2 separate regions of the Homo sapiens genome follow, and region 2 is linked to region 1. The links are contacts of gene promoters, found by promoter capture Hi-C in human tissues and cell types (Jung and others, 2019). All regions are on one chromosome and are shown on one strand. The core of a region is centred on a gene start or on the middle of the fragment in contact, and the rest is flanking DNA. Distances in the headings are between cores, read along the strand shown. Region 1 has its middle 180 kb from the start of ROCK1. Region 2 holds the start of ABHD3 (abhydrolase domain containing 3, phospholipase).

What was found. Contacts are between HindIII fragments. The study calls those that stand out against the background at their distance.
Region 2: the fragment with the promoter of ABHD3 here is called in contact with a fragment that was not itself captured in region 1 in 5 of the 25 tissues and cell types used here (bladder, dorsolateral prefrontal cortex, heart right ventricle and 2 more).

Annotation. Positions count from the first base shown.
Region 1 is chr18:20,931,342-20,938,601 of GRCh38, forward strand. No RefSeq gene overlaps it. Among named protein-coding and RNA genes, the nearest start is that of ROCK1, 180 kb to the right of the region's middle. RefSeq lists enhancers at 3,595-4,200, 4,201-4,808, 4,809-5,416, 5,417-6,024, 6,025-6,630 and 8 more. The HindIII fragment of the contact is 3,583 bases long and covers 3,223-6,805 here.
Region 2 is chr18:21,699,580-21,706,092 of GRCh38, forward strand. It overlaps ABHD3 (abhydrolase domain containing 3, phospholipase), which reads right to left and starts at 5,195. Exons shown (of 9, transcript NM_138340.5): 1 at 4,925-5,195; 2 at 4,005-4,168; 3 at 2,737-2,919. The coding sequence starts at 5,086. It also overlaps a transcript of MIB1 not described here. RefSeq lists enhancers at 3,923-4,072, 5,533-5,602 and a silencer at 4,593-5,362. The HindIII fragment of the contact is 17,143 bases long and covers 1-6,513 here.

The DNA of each region.
Region 1 (7,260 bases), core at 3,764-6,263:
TCTTTGTGATATATGTACTCAACTAACCGAGTTGAACCTTGCTCTTTATAGATCAGCTTTTTAATGCTCTTTTTGTGGAATCTGCAAGTGGATATTTGGATAGCTTTCAGGATTTCGTTGGAAACGGGATTACAAACAAAATGTAGACAGCAGCATTCTCAGAAACTTCTTTGTGATGTTTGCTTTTAAGTCACAGAGTTGAACATTCCCTTCCATAGAGCAGTTTAGAAACACTCTTTCTATAGTATCTGGAAGTGGACATTTCGAGCGATTTCAGGCCTATGTTGAAAAACGAAATATCTTCCCATAAAAACTAGACAGTAGCATACTCAGAAGCTTCTTTGTGATGCTTGCTTTTAAGTCACAGAGTTGAACATTCCCTTTCGTAGAGCAGGTTTCAGACACTCTTTCTGTAGTATCTGGAAGTGGACATTTCGAGTGTTTTCAGGCCTATGGTGAACAAGGAAATATCTTCCCATAAAAACCAGACACAAGCATTTGCAGAAACTTGTTTGTGATGCGTGTCCTCAACTCACAGAATAGAACATTTCGTTTGACAGAGCAGCTTGGAAACACGCTTTTTGTAGAATCTGCAATTGGATATTTGGATAGCTTTGTGGATTTCTTTGGAAACGGGAGTATCTTCATATAAAACCTAGACGGAAACATTCTCAGAAACTCCTTTGTAATGTCTGCATTCACGTCACAGATTTGAACATTCCCTTTCATAGAGCAGGTTTGAAACACTCTTTCCGAAGTATCTGGATGTGGACACTTGGAGCGCTTTGACGCTTACGGTGAAAAGGAAATAACTTCCCATGAAAACTAGACAGAAGCATTCTCACAAACTGGTGTGTGATGTATGTCCTCAGCTAACAGAGTTAAACCTTTCTATTTACAGAGCAGTTTTCAAAGACTCTTTTTGGAGAATCTGCAAGTGGATATCTGGAGATCTTTAAGGATTTCATTGGAAACCGGAATATCTTCAGGTAAAATCTAGACAGAGGCATTCTCAGAAACTTCTTCGTGATGTGCGTCCTCAACTAACAGAGTACAACCTGTCTTTTGATACATCAGTTTGGAAACACTCTTTTTGTAGAATCTGGAAGTGGATATTTCGATAGCTCTAACGATTTTGTTGAAAACGGGAATAGCTTCATATAAAATCTAGGCAGAGGCACTCTCAGAAACTAATTTTGTGAGATCTGCATTCAAGTCACAGAGTTGAACATTCCCTCTCGTAGATCTGGTTTGAAACACTCTTTTTTTGTATCTGGAAGTGGATCTTTGGAGCTCTTTGACGACTTTGGTGAAAAAGGAAATATGTCCCCATAAAAACTACACCAAAGCATTCTCAGAAACTTGTTTGTGTTGTGTGTACTCATCTGACAGAGTTGAACGTTTCTTTTTACACAGCAGTTTTGAAACACTCTTTTTGTAGAATCTGCAAGTGGATAATTGGATGACTTTAAGGATTTCGTTGGAAACGGGACTATATTCATGTAAAATCTACACAGAAGCATTCTCAGAATCTTCTTTGTGATGTGTGTCCTCAACTAACAGAGTTCAACCTTTCTTTTGATACAGCAGTTTGGAAACACTCTTTTTGTAGAATCTTCAAGTGGATATTTGGATAGCTCTAACGATTTCGTTGGAAACGGGAATGTCTTCATATAAAATCTGTACAGAAGCACTCTCAGGAGCTACTTTGTGATATCTGCATTCAGGTCACAGAGTTGAACATTCCCTTTCTTAGAGCACGTTTGAAACACACTTTTTGTAGTATCTGGAAGTGGACATTTGGAGCGCTTTCACGCCTTTGGTGAAAAAGGAAATGTCTTCCCATAAAAACTAGACAGAAGCATTCTAAGAAACTTCTTTGTGATATATGCACTCAACTAACCGAGTTGAACCTTTCTCTTTATAGATCAGTTTGAAATGCTCTTTTTGTGGAATCTGCAAGTGGATATTTGGATAGCTCTGAGGATTTCGTTGGAATCGGGATTACATATAAAATATAGACAGCAGCATTCTCAGAAGCTCCTTGTGATGTTTGCTTTTAAGTCACAGAGTTGAACATTCCCTTCCATAGAGCAGTTTTGAAACACTCTTTCTGTAGTATCTCTAAGTGGACATTTCGAGCGATGTCAGGCCTATGTTGAAAAAGGAAATAACTTCCCATAAAAAGTAGACAGAAGCATTCTCAGAAACTTATTTGTGATGGGTGTCCTCAACTAACAGAGTTGAACGTTTCTTTTGATACAACAGTTTAGAAACACTCTTTTTGTAGTATCTGCAAGCGGATATTTCGATAACTTTGAAGATTTCGTTGGAAACGGGAATATCTTCATATACAATCTAGACAGAGGCACTCTCAGAAACTGCTTTGTGATGTCTGCATTCAAGTCACAGAATTGAACATTCTCTTTCATCGAGCACGTTTGTAACACCGTTTCTGTAGTATCTGGATGTGGACATTTGAGCGCTTTGACGCGTACGGTGACATAGGAAATATCTTCCCTTAAAAACTAGACAGAAGCCTTCTCACAAACTGCTTTGTGATGTATGTCCTCCACTAACAGAGTTGAACCTTTCTATTTACAGGGCAGTTTTGAAAGACTCTTTTTGTAGAATCTGCAAGCGGATATTTGGATACCTTTAAGTAGATTTCATTGGAAACGGAAAAGTCATTCTCAGAAACTTCTTTGTGATATGTGTCCCCACCTAACAGAGTACAACCTGTCTTTGGATACAGCAGTTTGGAAACACTCTTTTTGCAGAATCTGCAAGTGGATATTTGGATAGCTCTGACGATTTCCTTGGAAACGGGAATATCTTCATATAAAATCTAGACAGAAGCACTCTCAGGAGGTACTTTGTGATATCTGCATTCAAGTCACAGAGTTGAACATTCCCTTTCATAGAGCTGGTTTGAAACACTCTTTTTGTTGTATCTGGAAATGGATCTTTGGAGCGCTTTGCCGACTTTGGAGAAAAAGGAAATATCTTCCCATAAAAACTAGACAGAAGCATTCTCAGAAACTTGTTTGTGATGTGTGTACTCAACTGACAGAGTTGAACGTTTCTTTTTACACAGCAGTTTTGAAACACTCTTTTTGTAAAATCTGCAAGTGGATAATTGGATGGCTTTAAGGATTTCCTTGGAAACGGGACTATATTCATGTAAAATCTACACAGAAGCATTCTCAGAAACTTCTTTGTGATGTGTGTCCTTAACTAACAGAGTTCAACCTTTCTTTTGATACAGCAGTTTCGAAACACTCCTTTTGTAGAATATGCAAGTGGATATTTGGATAGCTCTAACGATTTCATAGGAAATGGGAATACCTTCATATAAAATCTAGACAGAGGCACTCTCAGAAACTGCTTTGTGATATCTGCACTCAAGTCACAGAGTTGAACATTCCCTTTCTTAGAGCAGGTTTGAGACACTTTGTAGTATCTGGAAGTGGACATTTTTAGCGCTTTGACGCCTTTGGTGAAAAAGGAAATGTTTTCCCATAAAAACTAGACAGAAGCATTCTAAGAAACTTCTTTGGGATATATGTACTCAACTAACAGAGTTGAACCTTTCTATTTATAGGTCAGTTTTGAGAAGCTCTTGTTGTGGAATCTGCAAGTGGATATTAGGATAGCTCTGAGGATTTCCTTGGAAACGGGATTACATATAAAAAGTAGACAGCAGCATTCTCAGAACCTTCTTTGTGATGTTTGCTTTTAAGTCACAGAGTTGAATATTCCCTTACATAGAGCAGGTTTGAAACACTATTTCTGTAGTATCTGGACATGGACATTTCGAGCGATTTCAGGCCTATGTTGAAAACGGAAATATCTTCCCATAAATACTAGACAGAAGCATTCTCAGAAATTTCTTTGTGATGTGTGTCCTCAACTAACAGAGTTCATCCTTTCTTATGATACAGCAGTTTTGAAACACTCTTTTTGTAGAATATGTAAGTGGATAGTTGGATAGCTCTCATTATTTCATTGGAAACGGGAGTATCAACATAGAAAACCTAGACAGAAAAATTCTCAGAAACTGCTTTATGATGTCTGCATTCACGTCACAGAGTTGATCATTCCCTTTCATAGAGCAGGTTTGAAACACTATTTCTGTAGTATGTGGACATGGACATTTCGAGCGATTTCAGGCCTATGTTGAAAACGGAAATATCTTCCCATAAAAACTAGACAGAAGCATTCTCAGAAATTTCTTTGTGATGTGTGTCCTCAACTAACAGAGTTCATCCTTTCTTATGATACAGCAGTTTGGAAACACTCTTTTTGTAGAATATGTAAGTGGATAGTTGGATAGCTCTCACTATTTCGTTGGAAACGGGAGTATCAACATAGAAAACCTAGACAGAAACATTCTCAGAAACTGCTTTATGATGTCTGCATTCACGTCACAGAGTTGATCATTCCCTTTCATAGAGCAGGTTTGAAACCCTCTTTCCGTAGTATCTGGATGTGGACACTTGGAGCGCTTTGACGCTTACGGTGCAAAAGGAAATATCTTCCCATAAAAACTAGACAGAAGCATTCTCACAAACTGGATTGTGATGTTTGTCCTCAACTAACAGAGTTGAAACTTTCTATTTACAGAGCACTTTTGAAAGACTCTTTTTGGAGAATCTGCAAGTGGATATTTGGAGAGCTTTAAGGATTTCATTGGAAACGGGAATATCTTCATATAAAATCTAGACAGAGGCATTCTCAGAAACTTCTTTGTGATGTGTGTCCTCAACCAACGGAGTACATCCTGTCTTTTGATACAGCAGTTTGGAAACACTCTTTTTGTAGAATCTGCAAGTGGATATTTGGATAGCTCTAACGATTTCGTTGGAAACGGGAATATCTTCATAAAAAATCTAGACAGAAGCACTCTCAGAAACTACTTTGTGATATCGGCATTCAAGTCACAGAGTTGAACATTCCCTTTCATGGAGCAGGTTTGAAACACTCTTTTTGTAGTATCTGGAAGTGGACCTTTGGAGCCCTTTAATGATTTTGGTGAAAAAGGAAATATCTTCCCATAAAAACGAGACAGAAGCATTCTCAGAAACTTGTTTGTGATTTGTGTACTCAACTAACAGAGTTGAACCTTTCTTTTTACAGAGCCGTTTTGAAACACTCTTTTTGTAGAATCTGCAAGTGCATATTTGAATGGCTTTAAGGATTTCGTTGGAAATGGCAATATCTTCATGTAAAACCTACACAGAAGCATTCTCAGAAACTTCTTTGTGATGTGTGTCCTCAACTAACAGAGTTGAACCTTTCTTTTGACAGAGCAGTTTTGAAACACTCTTTTTGTAGGATCTGCAAGTGGATATTTGGATAGCTTAGAGGATTTCCTGGGAAATGGGAATATATTCATATGAAATCTAGACAGAAGCATTCTCAGAAACTTCTTTGTGATCTTTTCATTCAACTCGTAGAGTTGAACATTCCCTTTCATAGAGCCAGTTTGAAACACTCTTCTTGTAGTATCGGGAAGTGGACATTTGGAGCGCTCTGACGCCTATGGTGAAAATGGAAATATCTTCCCATAAAAACTAGACAGAAGGATTCTCAGAAACATGTTTGTGATGTATGTACTCAGCTAAGAGAGTGGAACCTTTCTTTTTACAGAGCAGCTTTGATACACTATTTTTGTAGAATCTGCAATTTGATATTTTGATTGCTTTAAAGATATCGTTGGAAACAGGAATATCTTCATATAAAATCTAGACAGAAGCACTCTCGGAAACGACTTTGTGATATCTGCATTCAAGTCTCAGAGTTGAACGTTCCCTTTCTTAGAGCAGGTTTGAAACACTCTTTTTGTAGTATCTGGAAGTGGACATTTGGAGCGCTTTGACGCCTTTGGTGAAAAAGGAAATGTCTTCCCATAAAAACTAGACAGAAGCATTCTAAGAAACTTCTTTGGGATATATGTACTCAACTAACAGAGTTGAACCTTTCTATTTATAGATCAGTTTTGAAACGCTCTTTTTGTGGAATCTGCAAGTGGATATTTGGATGGCTTTGAGGATTTCGTTGGAAACGGGATTATATATAAAAAGTAGACAGCAACATTCTCAGAAGCTTCTTTGTGATGTTTGCTTTTAAGTCACAGGTTTGAACATTCCCTTTCATAAAGCAGGTTTGAAACACTCTTTCTGTAGTATCTGGAAGTGGACATTTTGAGCGCTTTCTGGCCTATGTTGAAAAAGGAAATATCTTTCCATAAAAAGTAGACAGAAGCATTCTCAGAAACTTATTTGTGATGTGTGTCCTCAACTAACAGAGCTGTACCTTTCTTTTGATACAGCAGTTTGGAAACACTCTTTTTGTAGAATTTGCAAGTGGATATTTGGATAACTTCGAAGATTTCGTTGGAAACGGGAATATCTTCATATAAAATCTAGACAGAAGCATTCTCAGAAACTGCTTTTTGATGTCTGCATTCAAGTCACAGAGTTGAACATTCCCTTTCATCTAGCCGGTTTGAAACACTCTTTTTGTAGTATCTGGATGTGGACATTTTGAGCGCTTTGACGCCTACAGTGAAAAAGGAAATATCTTCCCATAAAAAGTAGACAGAAGCATTCTCAGAAACTTGTTTGTGATGTATGTCCTCAACTAACAGAGTTGAACAATTCTTTTTACAGAGCAGTTTTGAAACACTCTTTTTGTAGAATCTGCAGGTGGATATTGGGATAGCTTTAAGGATTTCATTGGAAACGGGAATATCCAAATATCAACTTGCAGATTCTACAAAAATAGTGTATCAAAGCTGCTCTGTAAAAAGAAAGGTTCCACTCTGTTAGCTGAGTACACACATCACAAACATGTTTCTGAGAATCCTTCTGTGTAGTTTTTATAGGAAGATATTTCCTTTTTCAGCATAGGCATCAGAGCGCTCCAAATGTCCACTTCCCGGTAGTACAAGAAGAGTGTTTCAAACCGGCTCTATGAAAGGGAATGTTCAACTCTACGAGTTGAATGAAAAGATCACAAAGAAGTTTCTGAGAATGCTTCTGTCTAGATTTTATATGTATATATTCCCGTTTCCAACGAAATCCTCTAAGCTATCCAAATATCCACTTGCAGATTCCGCAAAAAGAGTGTTTCAAAACTGCTCTGTCAAAAGAAAGGTTCAATTCTGTTAGTTGAGTACAAACATCACAAAGAAGTTTCTGAGAATGCTTCTGTCTAGTTTTTATGGGAAGATATTTCCTTTTTCACCATGGGCCT
Region 2 (6,513 bases), core at 3,945-6,444, 770 kb after region 1:
ACTTTGACTCTGGGCTGATCATGTGACTTGCTTTGACCAGTAGCACTGTGGGAGTTCTCAGCCTGGGCCTCAAGAGGCCCTGCAGCTTCTGCTTTTGTAATTTTGTGTGTGTGTCTGTGAGATAGAGTTTCGCTCTTGTTGCCCAGGCTGGAGTGCAATTGCGCAATCTTGGCTCACTGCAACCTCCGCCTCCCGGGTTTAAGCGATTCTCCCTCAGCCTCCCGAGTAACTGGGATTATAGGCACGCGCTGCCATGCCTGGCTAATTTTTGTATTTTTAGTACAGATGGGGTTTCGCTATGTTGGCCAGGCTAGTCTCGAACTCCTGACCTTGTGATCCGCATGCCTCAGCCTGTGGATGAGTGCTGGGATTACAGCTGTGAGCCACTGCACCCGGCTAAAATCTGGCAACCTTTATAAGCAATGGACAAAAGGTATGTGCACTGGCAACTCCAGAGCTTATAAGACTCAGTCCTTGAGTTTCAACCACATTGTTTTTATTTATTTATTTTTATTTATTTATTTTTTTGAGACAGAGTCTCGCTCTGTCGCCCAGGCTGGAGTGCAGTGGTGCCATCTTGGCTCACTGCAACCTCTGCCTCCCAGGTTCAAGCAATTCTCCTGCCTCAGCCTCCCGAATAACTGGGATTACAAGCATGTGCCACCACACCTGTCTAATTTTTTTGTATTTTTAGTAGAAACAGGGTTTCACCATGTTGGTCAGGCTGGTCTCGAACTCCTGACCTTGTGATCTGTCCGCCTTGACCTCCCAAAGTGCTGGGATTACAGGCGTGAGCCACTGTACCTGGCCCAAATTTTTTTGTTTTTATTTTTTTTGAGACGGAGTTTTGCTCTTATTGCCCAGGCTGGAGTGCAATGGCACAATCTTGGCTCACTGCACCCTCTGCCTCCCAGGTTCAAGCAATTCTCCTGCCTCAGCCTCCTGAGTAGCTGGGATTACAGGTGCCCACCATCACACCTGGCTAATTTTTGTATTTTTTAGTAGAGACGAGGTTTCACCATGTTGGCCAAGTTGGTCTTGAACTCCTGACCTCAAGTGATCCACCTGCCTCGGCCTCCCAAAGTGCTGTTATTACAGGCGTCAGCCACTGCACCTGGCCCACGTTGTTTTTAAAAGCAGTTCTAAGTCTTGAGAGACAGCTCAGGCCAAATCTAGAAGCAGTAATTTAAATATGTACAAAAGGCATTATGATCTTCTGTACTTTCTGAGCATGACTAAGTTTTAGCCAAAAAAAAAAAAAAAAAAAAAATGGAACCAGGCTGGGAGCATTAACTCACGCCTGTAAGAGACTGCAGTGAACCATGATCATGCCACTGCGCTCCATGCTGGGCAACAGAGCCAGATTTGGCCTCAAAAAAAAAAAAAAAAAAAAAAAGGAACCAAGCCTCACATCTAACTGTATGGTGCTTAAACATGGAATAATGATGAATTCCTGCTACTGCTAAGCAAATTTCTTGAATATAATTCTTGAACATCATAGTTCTTGAGAGAATGTTACTTCATGGACAAAATAGGCTATTATTTATAAAAGATCAGAATTAACTTGTTAAAATTAAGTTAGCTATCATGGAATTTTCCCCTTTACATCAAACATCAAAATGTTCTTCTTTCCTTTTTTTTTTTTTTCTTTTTGCCCAAGGTGTCACTCTGTCATCCAGGCTGGAGTCCAGTGGCACGATCATGGTTCACTACAGTCTCTACCTCCCGGGCTCAACTGATCGTCCTACCTCAGCCTTGTCAGTAGCTGGAACTATAGGTGCATGCCACCATGCCCTGCTAATTTTTGTAGACTAGGTCTCACCATGTTGCCCAGGCTGGTCTCGAACTCCTGGGCTCAAGCAATCCACCGGCTTTACGCCTTCCAAAGTGCTGGGATTACAGGCATGAGCCACTGTGACCAGCCTAAAATTATTTTTTTAAGGTAAACTTACCATCAGCTTTTCACACAAGTGTTTCAAGTTTAACAAAAGATACAACTCTACTTTAAATACAACTCACAGAGTGTTCCATTACAATAATTATCAGCTAAAAAAAAAAGCTGAGGCACAAAAAAGCAGTACCTTTTATAATGACTCTAAGATTCTAGAGCTGAACTTGAAACTCAAAGTTGCTAATCACTTGCAAAAAATTAAATTGTACCTGGTGACTGAGCTTAATAATGGTTACTCAGAAAAGCTGTGGCATCAACAACTGGAGACTAGCCAAGTGCACCTGCAAACTCAGGTGGTCAGAAGAGGCAGAGATCACCTTTGATAAATAGGGACAACCTACAAGCTGATTCTGAATATTTTTTGCACTTGGGAGCTGAGCCAGGGCGACAAGATTAGTGAATCCAGGCCCCAGAATGTGGCATGACGGCCACTGTGTACTCTCTCAGGGGTCTGTAATTGCTGTTCTCCCTCCATAACACACTCTCCATTGGGGTGGGGATGGGGGGAAGGGCTCAGTCAATGCTCAGATGATTCTAATTTCATTCATTAACTCAGCCTAAATCTGCAGAGTGTCTACTATGCTAAGTGACATTTCTTGTGAGATGATTCAGTTATGCATCTTCCTGAAAAGAAAGAGGAAAAAAAGAATGCAGAGAAAAATAATAATTTAAGGGACTGCTTTTCTATGCAAGAAGTACTAAGTATTTCTGAAACAAACATGTAGATATATTTGTACTTCATTTGGAATGGATCAAGTGAAAAAAAAGAAATCTTTTACTGGTACCTGTATCCTAATTCTTCACTAAGATGGATCATATGAAGGATATATGACTCCTTGCTTGTTCCCGTGAGGCCAGGCAACAATAAGATAGTAGGTCTGGTGCTGGCATCCATATAACACGTACTGTTATCATTATCAAACCAGTCCAGTGAAATCTGTCCTCCATCTGCAGTTTTAATAAGTTCACTGAAAGGAATAATTCAGAAGACATTACTATTTACATGTTTTAAGTCATGTCTTAATTTTAATTCTAAACACATGACATTATTTGCTCATCAAAAAATAACATTTTTCCAGCATTCACGAACACACACCCATATCTCGATCTACATATCATTTTCTTTCATTAGAAGGATTTTATGAAGATTAGTACCATCAAGTATTTCCAGCAACCTCCGTACAAGGTCGTATATAAAAATGAACTGCTAATTATTAAGATAAATGAATACTTACTCATTACTCCAAAACATCCAGCATTTAACCCTTGTTTGATTGAGGTCACTCAACTAATGCGACAGGGAAGTCTGAGTAAGTAAAATGCTGATCTAATCTCTGACCACTGCTCTAGCTCTTTGGACTCAATAATGCAGTCTCCTTGTATAGTATACTTCAAGATTTTCTTCTGAAATAATTTAAATTATTTCTCACATAGTATTCATGAACTTACAGAATTTTCCCAAACAAACAGTGCAAGTTCCAGGCAACAAAATAAACTCCAGAAGGATAGATGACTAAGGGAAATTAATAACAGGCACCATTTAAATCTGGTTCCTGATAAATCCTGGACCGTATCTTTAACACATCAAGAGCTATTATCATCAAGATCCCATTTGCCTGTCAATAGGAAGTCATTTTACACCAATAAATCGCCCAAAACCCAAATTAAGTGGCATCCTTCTCACCCCACCCCCCCCCCCAGTATCTGCTACTTATCAATGAATGAATGCAGATCATCAAAAGATCTGGGTCTTTCTGACAGATGTATGACAAACTGCGAGACAGTAATCCCCAAACACTTCTCTCATCCTAAAAATAAACCATTTACATCAGGTTGGCGGTTAGGGCGGGGACCAGGAGGCAAATACCTGCAGCTGGGGTATTTTCCTGCAGCTGGGGGTGGAGCCGGGGACGTACCTTCCATTTTCATTCCCTCTTTCTGTTCTATATACTTCCTAAAGCAGATTCTATTAACCAAGAACTGGGAATAAGCAAGCAAGCAAACAAACAACCTGTGATTTTGCAGAAATGACTGAAAACGGAAATTCACTTACTTCCTGTACTGCACCGGGGGCTTCGAAGTGATGAAAGGTCTAAGCAGGGTCTGTCCTCGACCCTCCCAGCACCAGACCGTCGGGTAGTACGTTTCTGTAACCACGGGACAGTGGTCTTGAAGGAAGCGGCTGAAACTCTCACCCCCGGTCACTAACTGGGGTTTCTGAAGGGAAAAGCAGTATCAGAGAAGGGCCCAGAGCAAAGTTTCTGCCAACCGTAAACCAGAAACCGGCAAAGACTTGTCGCTCGCGCGCGCGCTTCCTCCGATTACAACTCTTTCTGGAGGGCTGACGCAAAAAATTCACAGTCACAGAGGACTGAAACGGGGGTTTCGCCAATGCCCCGAGGGGAAGGCGAGAATCGCGATAAGGGAGTTTGTTTGTTTTTAACTCCGCCTCCCGGGTTCAGGGGATTCTCCTGCCTCAGCCTCCCGAGTAGCTGGGATTGCAGGCGTCCGCCACCACGCCCGGCTAATTTTTTGTAATTGTAACGGGGTTTCACCATTTTGGTCAGGCTGGTCTCGAACTCTTGACCTCAGGTGATCCACCCGCCTCGGGCTCCCAAAGTGCTGAGATTACAGGCGTGAGCCACCGTGCCCTGCCCGGAGTCATTTTCAAAAGCGCCACGGCGTTCCCGAGTGCGCCGCCGGCTTCGCGATCGGTGACCGGGCAGCGCCGCAGCGCAGAAGTCAGCCGGGTTCAGGCTGCGCTCCGAGGACCACCCGGCCGGGACCCCCAGGGGGCGGGCGAACGGGCGGGGCCTGTTGGCTTTCCCGCGCGCGCTGGGGGCTGCCGCTCGGGAGCAGCTCGCCGCCTATCCCCGGGGCTGCCGACCGCCCCTGGCCGCGCAGCCTCGCGCCGCGCCTGCTACCCTAGCTCCTGGCCCAGCAGCCCGCGGCCCTGCGCCACCCCCGGCTCACCTTGGCAATGCTGCTCAGGTAGTAGAAGGCATAAGCGACGCTGAAGCCCAGGATAAGGGATAAGCCCACCCCCGAGCCGAAGAACCCCACCCGGACTTGGTGTTCCAGGTAGAGGGAGAGCTCCCGGGACAACATCCGCAGGTCCATGGCCAGGCGCTGCATGGCCCCCGAGCGCGGCGCGCGGGTCCTGCGGCGGGAGGAGAGCCGGCTGGCGAGCGGGCGAGAGCGGGCGAGAGCGGACGCGGCGCCGCTGCCTACTCCCGACCACAGTGTCTCCTGCCTGGCGGAGCGCGGCTTCCGACAACGGGCGGGGCGGAGCGGCCCAGGGAGGCGTAGCCCGAGACTCCAACGCCGCCCGCTCCGCCCCGGCTTCCTGGAGCCGCCCCCACTGCCAGCCACTCAGGAACCTTCCAGAAGCGCGGTTCCAAGACCGGCCACCGGGAGGGCGGGCGGACTGGGTTCTCCCAGCTAGGTCGCAGTGGGCGATGGGGATCCCCAAGGGTGGGCCGAGAGCTGACGGATCGGCAGCGCTGGTTAAGGCCCCGCACCTGCAGCCCCAGTGACCTTGAACGATTCCGCTCTGCGGCGGGTGTCCCTAAACTAGCAGTTTAGGGTGTCAGGTAAGCGTGCCTTGCATTCAAAGATTTGGGGAGTTAATGCCAAAGATATGTTAGCAGGTAAGAATCCCACATCCTCTAGACGTTTGCGTTGGTCCTCAAGACTATGGAAAGAGAAAAAATATTCTATGAGCATTCAACAGTGAGGACATCATACTCGACTCTGAATCACTCTGTGAATCTTTTTAGTTGCTAAGTGTCACTTAAATGAGAAGTGGTCTCTGAAAATAAATGAAAAGGTCAAGAATAGCAACCGGGATTCAATTGTTAAAAGCCTATTTGTGGTTCATTAATGCTTTGAATTTAGAGACTTATGGAAATTCACACCGATTACCTAATGTACAGACAAGAAACCATTTATGAAGTAGGGTCTCCTAGGCTTATTTATGGCAATATGATAAATCAGGATACTTATGGTTATCTGAAATGGTTAGAATTTAATAGCCTATTCCTACTCTTATGAACTCCTTCCTCAGAGAGGTAGGAAGAATGGCAAGACTTAAACAGACGAAAGAAGGGAAAGTGCTGTCTAGATTATGAAAAATGCCAAAGGATTGTAAATTAATGATGTAATTTAGATGGGGACATGAGACGGACCAGAAGTGAGCAATTTATTTGGCTCCGATTTGGTCATTGCAACTTGGTGGTTGGCTGCAGCACCCAAAATAATTCAATTACCTTTACTGAGCCTGTTTTTTTCTTGTTTTAATAATCTGTAGCGTAACAATTTCTACTTTATAGAGTTCCCGAGAGGACAAGATAGTGTATATACTGGACTCCCCGTGAGCAGAAGTAATTTTCACGCTCTGGCTCTCACACCTGAGCACACATAGCAAACGTGAATGCATATGCTGGTTGCCATACTTGAAACTTCATAGCATTCTTCATAACCCCTGCACCAGCCTTCTGCACTACCTACCAATAAATGCATGCGTATTTCAGTTTAAGTTTGTTCTGTTTTGTTTTGTTTTG